4 separate regions of the Homo sapiens genome follow, and all the other regions are linked to region 3. Evidence: promoter capture Hi-C in 16 types of primary human blood cells and fetal thymus (Javierre and others, 2016). All regions are on one chromosome and are shown on one strand. Each heading gives the region's core, a stretch centred on a gene start or on the middle of the fragment in contact. The rest is flanking DNA. Distances are from core to core; before and after follow the strand shown.

What was found. Contacts are between HindIII fragments. The CHiCAGO score rates a contact against its expected background, and 5 or more counts as called.
Region 1: a contact is called between a fragment that was not itself captured here and the fragment with the promoter of LINC01551 in region 3, in 1 of 17 cell types (M2 macrophages). The highest score is 5.9, in M2 macrophages.
Region 2: a contact is called between a fragment that was not itself captured here and the fragment with the promoter of LINC01551 in region 3, in 2 of 17 cell types (M2 macrophages and endothelial precursors). The highest score is 8.4, in M2 macrophages.
Region 4: a fragment that was not itself captured here is called in contact with the fragment with the promoter of LINC01551 in region 3 in 3 of 17 cell types (M2 macrophages, endothelial precursors and M0 macrophages); the score reaches 12.8 in M2 macrophages.

Annotation. Positions count from the first base shown.
Region 1 is chr14:30,262,649-30,265,495 of GRCh38, forward strand. No RefSeq gene overlaps it. Among named protein-coding and RNA genes, the nearest start is that of G2E3, 300 kb to the right of the region's middle. The HindIII fragment of the contact is 3,914 bases long and covers 1-2,847 here.
Region 2 is chr14:30,281,656-30,284,701 of GRCh38, forward strand. No RefSeq gene overlaps it. Among named protein-coding and RNA genes, the nearest start is that of G2E3, 280 kb to the right of the region's middle. The HindIII fragment of the contact is 2,113 bases long and covers 231-2,343 here.
Region 3 is chr14:28,771,220-28,774,081 of GRCh38, forward strand. LINC01551 (long intergenic non-protein coding RNA 1551) reads left to right here and starts at 1,485. Exons shown (of 3, transcript NR_026731.1): 1 at 1,485-1,636; 2 at 2,141-2,214. The HindIII fragment of the contact is 5,790 bases long and covers 1-2,862 here.
Region 4 is chr14:30,213,571-30,216,524 of GRCh38, forward strand. No RefSeq gene overlaps it. Among named protein-coding and RNA genes, the nearest start is that of PRKD1, 290 kb to the left of the region's middle. The HindIII fragment of the contact is 266 bases long and covers 1,561-1,826 here.

The sequences.
Region 1 (2,847 bases), core at 58-2,557, 1.5 Mb after region 3:
ATATGCATCTCGATGTAACGCCATAGCACAAATTCATCATTTTGAATGTCTGTCTATATACTGTGGCTTTAACCAAGTTCTAGGTACAAGCTGATCTTTTTGCAGTATTTTTAATAACTCCTACTTAACATAATGATTTTGAACATCTATTCTTTTAAAGTTATTTTTGTTAGTTTTTCCCTTGAGATCTCTGCTTTCTTTTAAAAATATCATGTTGTATTTTAAAAAGTCACTTTTTCTCTCTCTTCCCAAAACTACCATCATTTTTTTTAAAAAGTCAGCTTTAAATGGCTAGTGCCATCCTTCTTTTGTCAGTTACTTTGACCAAGTACTGTGACCTGGATTGAATAATTGGAACTTGCTGGTAGAATGGTACCTGAGTGTGTTTATCCCAGAAAGAAATTCCAAATGCACTGGGGATAGAAATAAACCAAGGAGTTTGGATGGAGATGATAAAGAATATGAAAAACTCAACTGAGAATTTCATGCAACCTCTCTAAAACTGAGAGATTATGGGTATATGAGCCATATTTCCAAAGCTGATGACCAAATGATCTTTAAATATATTACATTTTATTACTAAAAAAGTAAGTTTATAAAATACAAATTGAAATAACACTAAGATAATTTTTTGCCTATTATATTGGTGGAAAAAGATGAAGCTACAAAGTGTTGGCAAGAGTGCGGAGAAACTAGTACTCTTACTTACTACCATTGGGGATAATCATTGGCAAAAATATTTTTCAGGGCCATTAAAAAATACTTGAATAAGTTTAAATATTGCACATCCTTTGACCCAGCAATTTTATCTTTATAAATGTATCCTGCACATATACTAACACAAGTATACAAAAATGTGTGCACAAAAATGTTTGCTGAGTGAATGCCGAGCTCTAATTCTGAAATCAGACAGACTTGAGTTGAAATCACAGCTCCACTACCTTCTGGATATGTGACCTTGGACAAGTTACATAGCATTTCAGTGTCCTCATCTGCCCGATTATTTTGAAAATTAAATGAAATGATGCCTACAAAGTCTATAATAAAGTTCCTGGCACTTAGTATTAATAAATACTTAGTGAGTATTTATTACTCTTTGCAATGATGATAATATTACTACAGATATCATCCTGTATTATTTATAATAGCAAAATACCTGAAAACAAGTCAGCTATCTGTTAAGTGGAGAATTGACTATATCACCTTAGGTCCATTCAGTGGAATACAACATAGTCATTAAAAAGAATGAGATGAATCTACATGGAAAGGGTCAAAATATACTATGAAAAAGTCAAATTTCAGTATTAACTATACTATTCCATATGTGTGAAAAGACACGATAATACATTTTACTACTATATGGAGGGACGGAAGGAGGGAAGAAGGGACGGAGAGAGAGAGAGAGAATACAAAGCAAAATATTAATAAGAATTATCTTTGGGAAGTGGGATAATTGGGCACTTGAATTTTTTCTCTATCATGAACTTTTGTAATATTTTCATTTTTCACCATGCACTTGTATTACTTTTAAAATTAATAGAAGTATTATTTTTGAAAGAGTAAAAGTAAATTCAATATGTGATGCAATCTTTCACATTGAATTCTTAAATCAAATAAAAGAAAATAAGATGTGTATTTTTGCCAACTCCTAGCAAAAACAGCTGTCTCAAGAGGAAATGTTCTAGTATAAAAGGGAGCTTTGTTTTCTTCCTTCTGCCTTAGTTCAGGCCTGCTTGCCTGTTTCACAGTATTGAATATGCAGTGCATGGACAGGAAAGCTCAGGAATAAGAGACCTATATAAAACACCTAGGGATATTTTTAAACAATTCAATATGAATAGAGTGAGCTAATTTATTAAGCCAACTATCTATTTTCTAATTTCCTGTTATGTAGATAAAGGATTATCCAAATTATTTTCATCCTTGGATTCTCACAACCTAGTTTATAGAACGTATTCAGTAAATATTTGTTGAATGAATGAGTAAAGACTGGCTGTCACTTAATACATTTCTTTTAGCTTCCTAGTAGCTGGACTTACACATCTTCCATTGCTAAAGCCAGTCAGCAGAGACCTGGGGCAGGCAGGGTGAAAATAAATGAAACCAGAAGGATTTTCTGGAAAACCATGAGAGAGATCAGAGAATCAGGGAAACTCGGAGCTAGAAGACAACTGCAGAACTATCCATTCTGACACCTAATTCTGTGAGGAAACTGAGTCCCAGAGAAGGTGGTCAGAGTGCTGGTTAGAGGCAGAGTAAGGACATAAGCCCAAGTCTTATACTCCTACTTAAGTTTTCCTTCCTAACCAGGTTGTTATTCCCCACAAAAGAGTGCTATTGCTTAGATAAATTGGCATGGAATCTTCCTTTCATATGGAGGAGAAGGCAGTGGTGATGAGAGGGGAAAGGTTTACTAGCAAAGCTATATCCAATTACAAATTTACTTCTTTTTAACTTATATTGTTGTTTTCTCCCAGCAAATATTTTCAATGTAAATAATAGATACATGGAGCATCTCAAGTTTACCATTATTGTGTCCCTTTAAAGATATTTCTATCTTCCAACCTTTCTTCAAATACCATGATCAAAAATTAGCATAAATCAGAACTGTTTGATGTCTTTATGTTAACTTTGCCTAGGAAAAAAATGGAAAAGTATGGCAGAATACTTTCTCAAACTATAAACTAGACAAGAATACCACTATGAATTTGGAAGCATGATTTTCTTCTTTGGGTGGATTCTTTGGTTGTCTTCTGCCAATTGAAGCAAATTCCTTCTTAGTCTTTATTTAATAGCACTCCTTCTGCCTTCGCTATAGCAGCACTTATCACAGGTGAGATAAAATGT
Region 2 (3,046 bases), core at 37-2,536, 1.5 Mb after region 3:
TGGATCACAGACAGAAGTATACTGGAATGAGTTTCATAATATTGTCCTGGTTGTCCTCTTAACCCTTAGACCTATTCTGAATGTCACTCTTCTGCAAACTGAAGATACTAGCACTAGTTTCTTCTACCTCTCTGTGAGAACCATGTGAGTAAATATAAAAAGTACTTTGGAAAATGCAACAACTTAGGCAAATATAAAGAATTATTATTTATCCCTACTAAACTTTTTAAAGCTTTTCTCATGTGTTCATAATATTGTTGAAGAAATCAACTCCTTCCCACCCTTTATGTGTATAATTGATGATTCTGTATTATTAATATAGAAATATTTTTTAAATTTTCAATCTAGACAAAAGAAGATTTCCACTAAAACCAAGGCTGCTTACTTTTCATTAAAAACTAGAATTCAGACTCAACATTTAAAGATTTTCTACATTTTTTTTTAATTTAAGACAGAGTCTCACACTGTCACTTGGGCTGGAGTGCAATGGCGTGTTCTCGGCTCACTGCAACCCCTGCCTCCCAGGTTCAAGCGATTCTCCTGCCTCAGCCTCCCGATTTGCTGGAATTACAGGCACGCACCACCATGCCCAGCTAATTCTTGTATTTTTAGTAGAGACAGGGTTTCACCATGTTGGCCAGGATGGTCTTGATCTCTTGACCTCGTGATCTACCCACCTTGGCCTCCCAAAGTGCTGGGATTACAGGTGTGAGCCACTGGCACCCGGCCTTCTACATATTTTTAAGTGAAGATTTTAACCTAAATCAGAAAAAATATTTTGAAATTATTCACAAGTTAATTTTTTCTTAAATATTTTTAAACTTGTATGGTTGCTACAAATATGTCAGTTTAAATCTCTGCCCTTCAGTTTTCATCATTTGTTAATTGAGGGAGCTAAAAAGCATGACTTATAAAATCCTTTACAATGACAAAATTCATAATTTTCAGAGTCTACGAAAGTAAGATTTTTAAGCTGATGTAAAATTTTTCTGAAGACTAATTCAAGTAGCTGTCTGATTTATGATAATGCCTATTTCAAATATTATTTTTGAATTCTCTGTTAAATGATATTTTTTAACTTTTTAAAAAACGAGTACAATTTTTTCCTTTGAAATTAAATAGATTACTTGGTTTCCAACATTTAATTATGTCTATCATCAGAAAAACTTTTCGCTTAATGGAATTATTTAAACAATATTATATTAATGGAAAACATTATTCTCAGGACTAATTAGGTGCCTTTGATGTGAACTCCTTTGCATTCACTGTATGCATGACATACTACTGTCTTATAGTGCAATGAATAGCAGAGCAATGATGATTCAATAAATGTAGATCCATTTTGCATATTTGCATAACTTAAGAAATACCAACATCATTTTCTGAGAAGCCTTCCCTGATTTTCAGCCTAGATCCAATTTCTCTGACATATGTTCACAAAGCTGCATACTTTTCCTTCACAGTATTAAGTATCTAATATCACATTTCTTTGTTAATAATTATTAATGTCGATCTACCCACTAGAGTGCCATTGCTTTCCTAGTGTTACATGAATAAATGAATCAGTGAAGTCATGCGTCATTACTAGAGTATGTTTCTACTCCATTCCATTTATTTATTTATTTATTTATTTATTTATTTATTTATTTATTTATTTTGAGACAGAATCTTGCTCTGTCGCCCAGGCTGAAGTGCAGTGGCATGATCTCCGCTCACTGCAAGCCCCGCCTCCCGGGTTCAAGTGATTCTCCTGCCTCAGCCTCCCGAGTAGCTGGGACTACAGGCACACACCACCACGCCTGGCTGATTTTTTGTATTTTTACTGGAGACGGGGTTTCACCGTGTTAGCCAGGATGGTCTTGATCTCCTGACCTGGTGATCCGCCCGCCTCGGCCTCCCAAAGTGCTGGGATTACAGGCGTGAGCCACCACACCCAGCCTATTTTCTTTTTGTATTCAACAATAATGAAAACCTATAAGCCCCTCAATAATGGAAGCTAAATCTTATTTCTCTTTGGGCCCAACACAGTGCCGGGCTCTTAAAACTCAGGAACATGGCTTTAGCTGAAAAGTCTGTGTCAGAGCCCGAAGCCCTTTAAGGTTGAGCGGCGTCAACCAGGAAGTCTTTAGCCACTGCCACAAAAGGGCTCATCTGGCCTCCAGATTTGACAAGAGTTTTCACTTCTACTTATGTCCAACTTCCTTCCTTTTTCTTGATTTCTAGGATCCAGCCCAGCTTGGTTTGGACTTTTTCGGTAACATCTATCCCCAGACTCTGGTTCCTCTCTCACTGGGCCCTACCTCTTGACTAGTTAGGCACCTTTCCTTGAAGAAGCATTTCTCAAGCTTCCTGGGCTTTAGCTCTCTGCTGCCCCCATTAGGCAGTAATCATTGCCAGAGTAACTCCTAGAGAAATCTGCCTGCTCAAACTTAAGTAGCTATTCTGATTTGTCTCAAGATAAGGTCCCAATGCTTTCAACTTGTTTATGTATAAAAATTATATGTAACCCAAATTCTCCATTTCATTTTTAAAATCATTTAAAGCAGAATACTAAGTGTTAGAAGGAGACCCACTGTGACTTTGTGCCCACTGAATAGGCTAGATTTACAAGGCAAGCACTGAAGATAGTTATTTCTGGCTGAGGCTACTTTTGCAATCCAAGTAATGACATGAAGGCAATAGTTGAGATGATGTATGTCCATCGACACATTTGCTTGTCATCCTAACAACAGTCATAAAAATTAAAATGCACACTTTAATATTGAACACAGTTTATTTGTCTGAAAAAATTCTTTATTAACATAACAGAACCCATATTATTGAAACACAAGTTACATACGTTGTGCATTACCACTTAAAGTAAATCAAGGAATAACAAAAAATTAACCACTGGACAACTGAGTTGGTTAGAGGAGAGAGAGTGAGGAGTTACTTTTTATTTTTTGCCTTTCTGTTCACTTTGAAATGTCTAAATGTGTACATATACGCTTCTTATTCTTAAATATCAGCAGAGGCTATCAAGGTAGAGAGATTGTGGAGTATATTT
Region 3 (2,862 bases), core at 235-2,734:
GAATGAAGCATAAAAATATTTCACAAAAAATTATTGTGTTAAAAGTCAAATTTATGGCTGATATTAAAAATAGTAATAAAGTCCAAGTGAATGGTTTTATGCAAAGGAAATCCCCATTACACATTTTGAACCAAAATAGCTCAAAGAGAGACATGTGTCCAAGCTGAAAAAAAGGTGATGATTTATTGTTTGCTTTTGCCATGGATTTTATTTGTGGAATAAGAATGTATTATCACAGGGGAAACATAGAATTTTGCTTACCAAACGTTAAAAAGAAAGTTGAACTCTTGTGCTAAGGTAAAGGGGTATAGATATAGAAGAAAGTTTTCCTGCATGAGTATTTTTTTTGGCCACATTAAATAAGTATACTTATTTGTATTTATAAGTGTTTATTTGGGTGACAGATAAATAGAATTTTAATGGCAAACATCATACTTTGAAGTCAAGAGTAAAACTGATTTCTTTGAATTCATAGAAACGAAGTATTGGAGTGGGAGTTCTGCTTGGACCCATGTCCAAATTACATATAATGGATATGACTAGAAGTTTGTTAGGTGTACTAGACACGAAGGTGGATATATGGAGAGAGAACTTTGTAAAGGCTTCCTGAAGCCCAATATGAACATCTCATTTCCCTTGATCTATCTTATCATCCCTCAACTTATCTTCTCAAAAAACACATGACAGTCTGGCATGGCATATAATACATTTTTGCATCGAACGGGTTGTAATGTTGTGTTATTTGTTGTCTCCAACTTTGACCGTTAAAATTAGTTTATGTCAGAAATACACTTCAAAACTTTTGAGGATTATTTTCTTTCATATTATAATTGTTTTTAATAAGATGAAGGTTGTCCTTTGTGAAATTTTGGAACTGAAACTGATCACAACTTAAAACTTGAAATCCCAAATTAAAGTTTATTTCCAGGTTTAAAGTATTTTACTTGAATTTGTCTGTTGTAAAGTTAACAAAAAATATTAATATGTAAAACACTGAGAAAATGATGTAATTGAACTAGAGGAGTTAAAGTATTATTTCAAATATGTTTCTTCAGCCTGTTACAAAATTGGGAACCAAGTGAACATGAAGTCTAGAACTAACAAGGTTTAATACAAATATCCTTATGGTCATGGAAGCCTTCATGTAGTTTATGTGACTTGCATAAAATCAAAGGCAGAGAGGCAAAAATTTAGTCTCATAGTGTATTGATTTTAATATATATTTAAGTTGGTGCATATTTCACCCAAATACGTGGATAAATTCAATATATTTAGAAGTCTATAGAAGTGTAGTTTTTTAAAAAGTGTATTTTCTACAACATTGTTGAGGAATTTGCATGCACTGGGAAAATTTTGGTTTTGAGAAATTAATTTTATGAACAGCTAAAGTGGTTGGTTGTGTTTGAGACTAAAAGCCTGTTGGAGAATTAGACTAACAAAGGGTGAAGGTGAAGATCATTAGAGGTTTTAGAACTGGCTGAGATGGGTTGCTGGGGTTGTGTAACTGTGCCTAGAGGGCGGGGTTCCTGTACATTCCTACTTCACCAGATAACCTGCCCCCAACACCACTTCAGCTTCTGCCAGACAGATGGAACTCTCCAGCATGAAAATCTGCGCAGCCATTCCAACAAGCAGGGTAGGTGAAACTTGAATTAAAATTCTCCCCTCTTTATTTTTCTACTTAAGTCCAGATCCTGGAGATATGGAAAGAATAGAGGTCATCTAGATTCTCTCTTTTGGGCACACACGTCTGCATTCTTCCTAAGAGCTACCTACCTGTAAGAGTTAAAAGGTGCTAGAGATCTTTCCCAGTTAGTACTTCATGCTAGATTTTCTTTTGCGTGCATTTTTTTTTTTTTTTTAAGATTTCTTTTCTCTATACCAATCATTCCCCTTTTCTATTCTCCCTTCAGGGCCCTTTCCCCTCAATCACTAGCAGTTAAAATAACCCACCTCAGATTTTGGCTCCCAAAGGCACCCATTCCCCACCCTAGCGGTCAGTTCTAGGGACCTTATCCTGAGGATGTAGGCCAAGGGGGCTCCAGGCTGGCAAATAGATGATGTATTGTTATGTTTTGTGCCTCTTGTCTCCCTCCCGATTTCTACTGTGTTTTGTTTTTGTTTTTCCCCACCACCTAAGGCTCTGCCTGAGGTTGTCCGAAGGATGCCGAGGAAAAGGATATCAGGACTGGAATGGCTCTTACAGCAAGATCCGTAAGTGAAAGTGCTTTTCAGAGGGGAAGGGGTAGGGTAGGGAATATGTGTAACTGACTGCTTTGGACTGAGTTTTAACGCCTGACTTTGGGGTCCTGGCCTTAAGTGTTCATCTTTTCTTAGAAAATGTTAGCAGGCTCGCTACCAACAGACGTAGCTGAAAGGATGCATAATTTTTTTCCACGTTGACAGAAATCACGGTGAATCCCCAGGTCAAAAGGATGTAGACACGGCAAAGGAACATGGAGAGAAAACGAGAAAAAATTATACGGAGAAGGGGTAGTGGGAGACTGAAATAGGTCCTAAAGTGTAAATTAATTCATTTCGTGGAAATATGATTTCTGAGTCTTATGGTTGCTACAGGAACTTCCGGGACGTTCTTAACGCTCAAAGACAGGTTTATTAGCTATCCTTATTTCAGTTAAAGCTCTTTGCTCCAGAGCCAAGAACCTGCTTCTCTCTAAAGTTCTTCTTTGGATCGCCCTTCTCTATTTGCACACTAACATAGCCAACCTTCCCCAGAGCTGGCCCTCCGCCCCCAGCTCCTTGGCCTGGGTCACACCAGGGTCCCGGTCGGATTTAGCCGGGCTGCTCCGGGTCGGGTGAGGCACTGGGTGCGTGTGGGAGTCTTCTCTTCTGTCTCTTCGA
Region 4 (2,954 bases), core at 444-2,943, 1.4 Mb after region 3:
ATAAGATATTGTGGATGAAAGTGTGTCAGGAACTATAAACCATTATACCAATAGTTATTATTATTAACATCATCTTTGTAATAAAGGAGATGTGTATTATGTTACATAGTGTTTGGGTTATTTTTGTTTTGGTTTGGTTTTGTGTTTTTTTAGATCTCTTTCATTACCCAGCACAATGCTTGGCACATAGTAGATGACAAATGTTTGTTCAATGAAAGAATGAATAAAAAGATAATGCTTCTGACCATATATATTGACAGGATGTGTGCTTTGAATTACTTTTCTAGAAGTGGTGAAGAATCTTTGTAGAGCTGGTTAAGTGGATTTTCCGTGTGCGATCCTGGGATTTTTTTTTTTGTTTGTTTTCTTCTTTTCTGTAGCATACCAACTGACTCTGACTGGAATCAAACCTATGCCCTTAGTGTCTCAGGTAGCAGTTGCTCTAACCAAGGAAGTGAATCAATCCAGACTAAAGAGAAAAGATGATAGTATATACTGAGCCTAGTCCTATAGGCTACAATGTGTGCAGGCTTCATAGGCCCACTTTCTAAATGATGAGTAAGAAAATGGGGAGGCATTATTTGCCTCTTTAAGAAAAGCACATATAATGAGCTCACACTTTCACCTTCCACCCATCAAAACAGTGAGTCAGAGAATCACAGAATGCTGCTTTCTTCCAAAGTCCCTTGTATCCAGACTTTCAGACATATCGTACCCCTCACTTCCCTAAATTTTCACCTCTATGGAATGCACACAGACATATGGGTAAATCAACAACAACCCTCAAGGAAGCTATAACCACCCAGCGTGTACATTTTGCAACTCTTTCAACTCGCTTCCCATCCTGCCCATCCCCTACACAAATCAGGTTTGAATGCCCAGGCTTGTCACCTGGTATACAAAAATGCAGTCTAACACTGTATTTATTAGCAACCCTTTTCCCTTATGTTTAATTTATTGTTACATTTTTTAAATGTACAAACAGTTATACCAGTTTTATACACAAAACCACAGGTACCGTTTTGTATCTGTCAAAATTCCAGCAGCCTGTGGAGAGAGACAGTTGAATAGATGTCCTATGCTGCCATCTAGTGCTTTTGTCAAGACACGGACTTGTTCATTTTTCTGGAAATGAGGAAACAAAGGCAGCTCAAGGCACCCAAATTCTGGAAGAGCTACTGATATGCATTATTAAACAGATGCATTTATGACACTTGGACCACATTCCCTGGAACCAAGCAACTTAACTTGTTTTCACACAATGGCAGCTTACACCCCTGCTCTTGACTGGCAAAGCTCTGGCCTACCCTGGAGGCACCTGGTTTAAATCCAAACTGACTGGGCAAGCAAAATGCCCCTCTGAGCCCCTTTCTACAGCTCCCATCTGGCCAAGGTTCTCTTGGCATGTCTCTTCCTCCAGGAGGGACAGTTTTATCTGAATGACTTGCCTATTACTTCAATTCTGATAGAAGGCACAAAGGAGTCAGATGGCTTAAAAAAATCATTATCTTTAAAATTGACTAAAACAGCAGCCATTTTCCTTATAGTGGCCAAAAGTGAAGCTTCTGAATTTGTCTTGCTCCTCAGCTCACGGGATTTGTGTCACTCGTTAGATCCCAGATCCTTTTCTGAATCCCCCCCTTTATCTTTTCTTGGATCTCAAAAGTACCTTTCTTCTCCTCAATTAATCAATCAGCACATCTCTGTGTTGCACACACGCTATGCTAAAAGCACTATATCAGACACCGGTTAGTGGGTGGATAAATCAAATGAAAATAACCTTTCCATCTGCGTCTCTGATCACTTCCTGCCTCTGGCCTCAAAGAAGCTTCACCATCCGCCTCCTTGCTACTCTTTAACCCTTTCCTCTTTCATGCTTCTTTTTCTTTTCCTTTAACTATACACAAACCTCTCTTCTAGTTAAAATAAATATAAGAACTTTACTTGAACCCTCCACACTTTCCTGCTACCAGCAAATTTCTTCCTTCCGTGGTTGTATCTTTTTGTATTTTTATCTCAATGAAATGGAGAATTCACTAACCCAATATGCTAATCTCCCAATATAGAATCAACCGCCTAACAAATTAGACGGTGTCCTTCCAACAAGACAGAGTGAGTATCTGTTAGGGCTGCAGCTCCTGAACGTGACTCCTGAAATGGAGAGGAGGTTATCATAGATGACCTCTGAGTTCCTCTGATTTCGATTCTGTCCTTTCTAAACTTTATTTTATTATAGTCTCTACTTCTGCAGCCACTCCCTACTTAACCATGCCTGTAAACTCATGACTTTCTCAAAAGGAAGTTAGCCTCTCTAGATGATCAGATTCCATTCCCCCTTCTTGAATTCATTGCTTCGTCATGACACCCTGATTACAACCCTTTCTTGAAGCACTCTCTATTCTATTCGCCAATTCTATTTATCAAATACCTCATTGTTTCCAATGGTTTTACTGATTTCTTCTCTTCCCTTATTGAGGACTATATCTAAACTTGGATTTTGTCCATATCTATGTCTGTGACTTTACAAACACATTTACTCACTCCCACTGTATCTTCACACAATGCTTCATGATGACAGTGATGGTGATCATGATAATTTGATCACATAATTCCACTTCCACAAAGGTCTTAAATCTTCCATTTCTACTGTGATTTTTCAAACTCTTTCCAAGCCCATACCATCATTTATCCGCATAGCAGAATAGTTCTTCTTGGTTGTCCCATCAACACTATAATAGTAAACTTTGGATTCATGATTCTCACCCTCAAAATGGCATACTTCCCAAGTTTGTCCATTACTATCAATGGCAACACCATGGCCAATCTTCAGCTAAGCTGAGTATCTTAGATTCGTTTTGGAGTTATCCTTCTTTAACTCCTGATATTTAATCTTTCCCCAAGACTTGCAAATTCCTTCTTCTTTATTTCATTCAAATATGCATCTTTATTTCCAC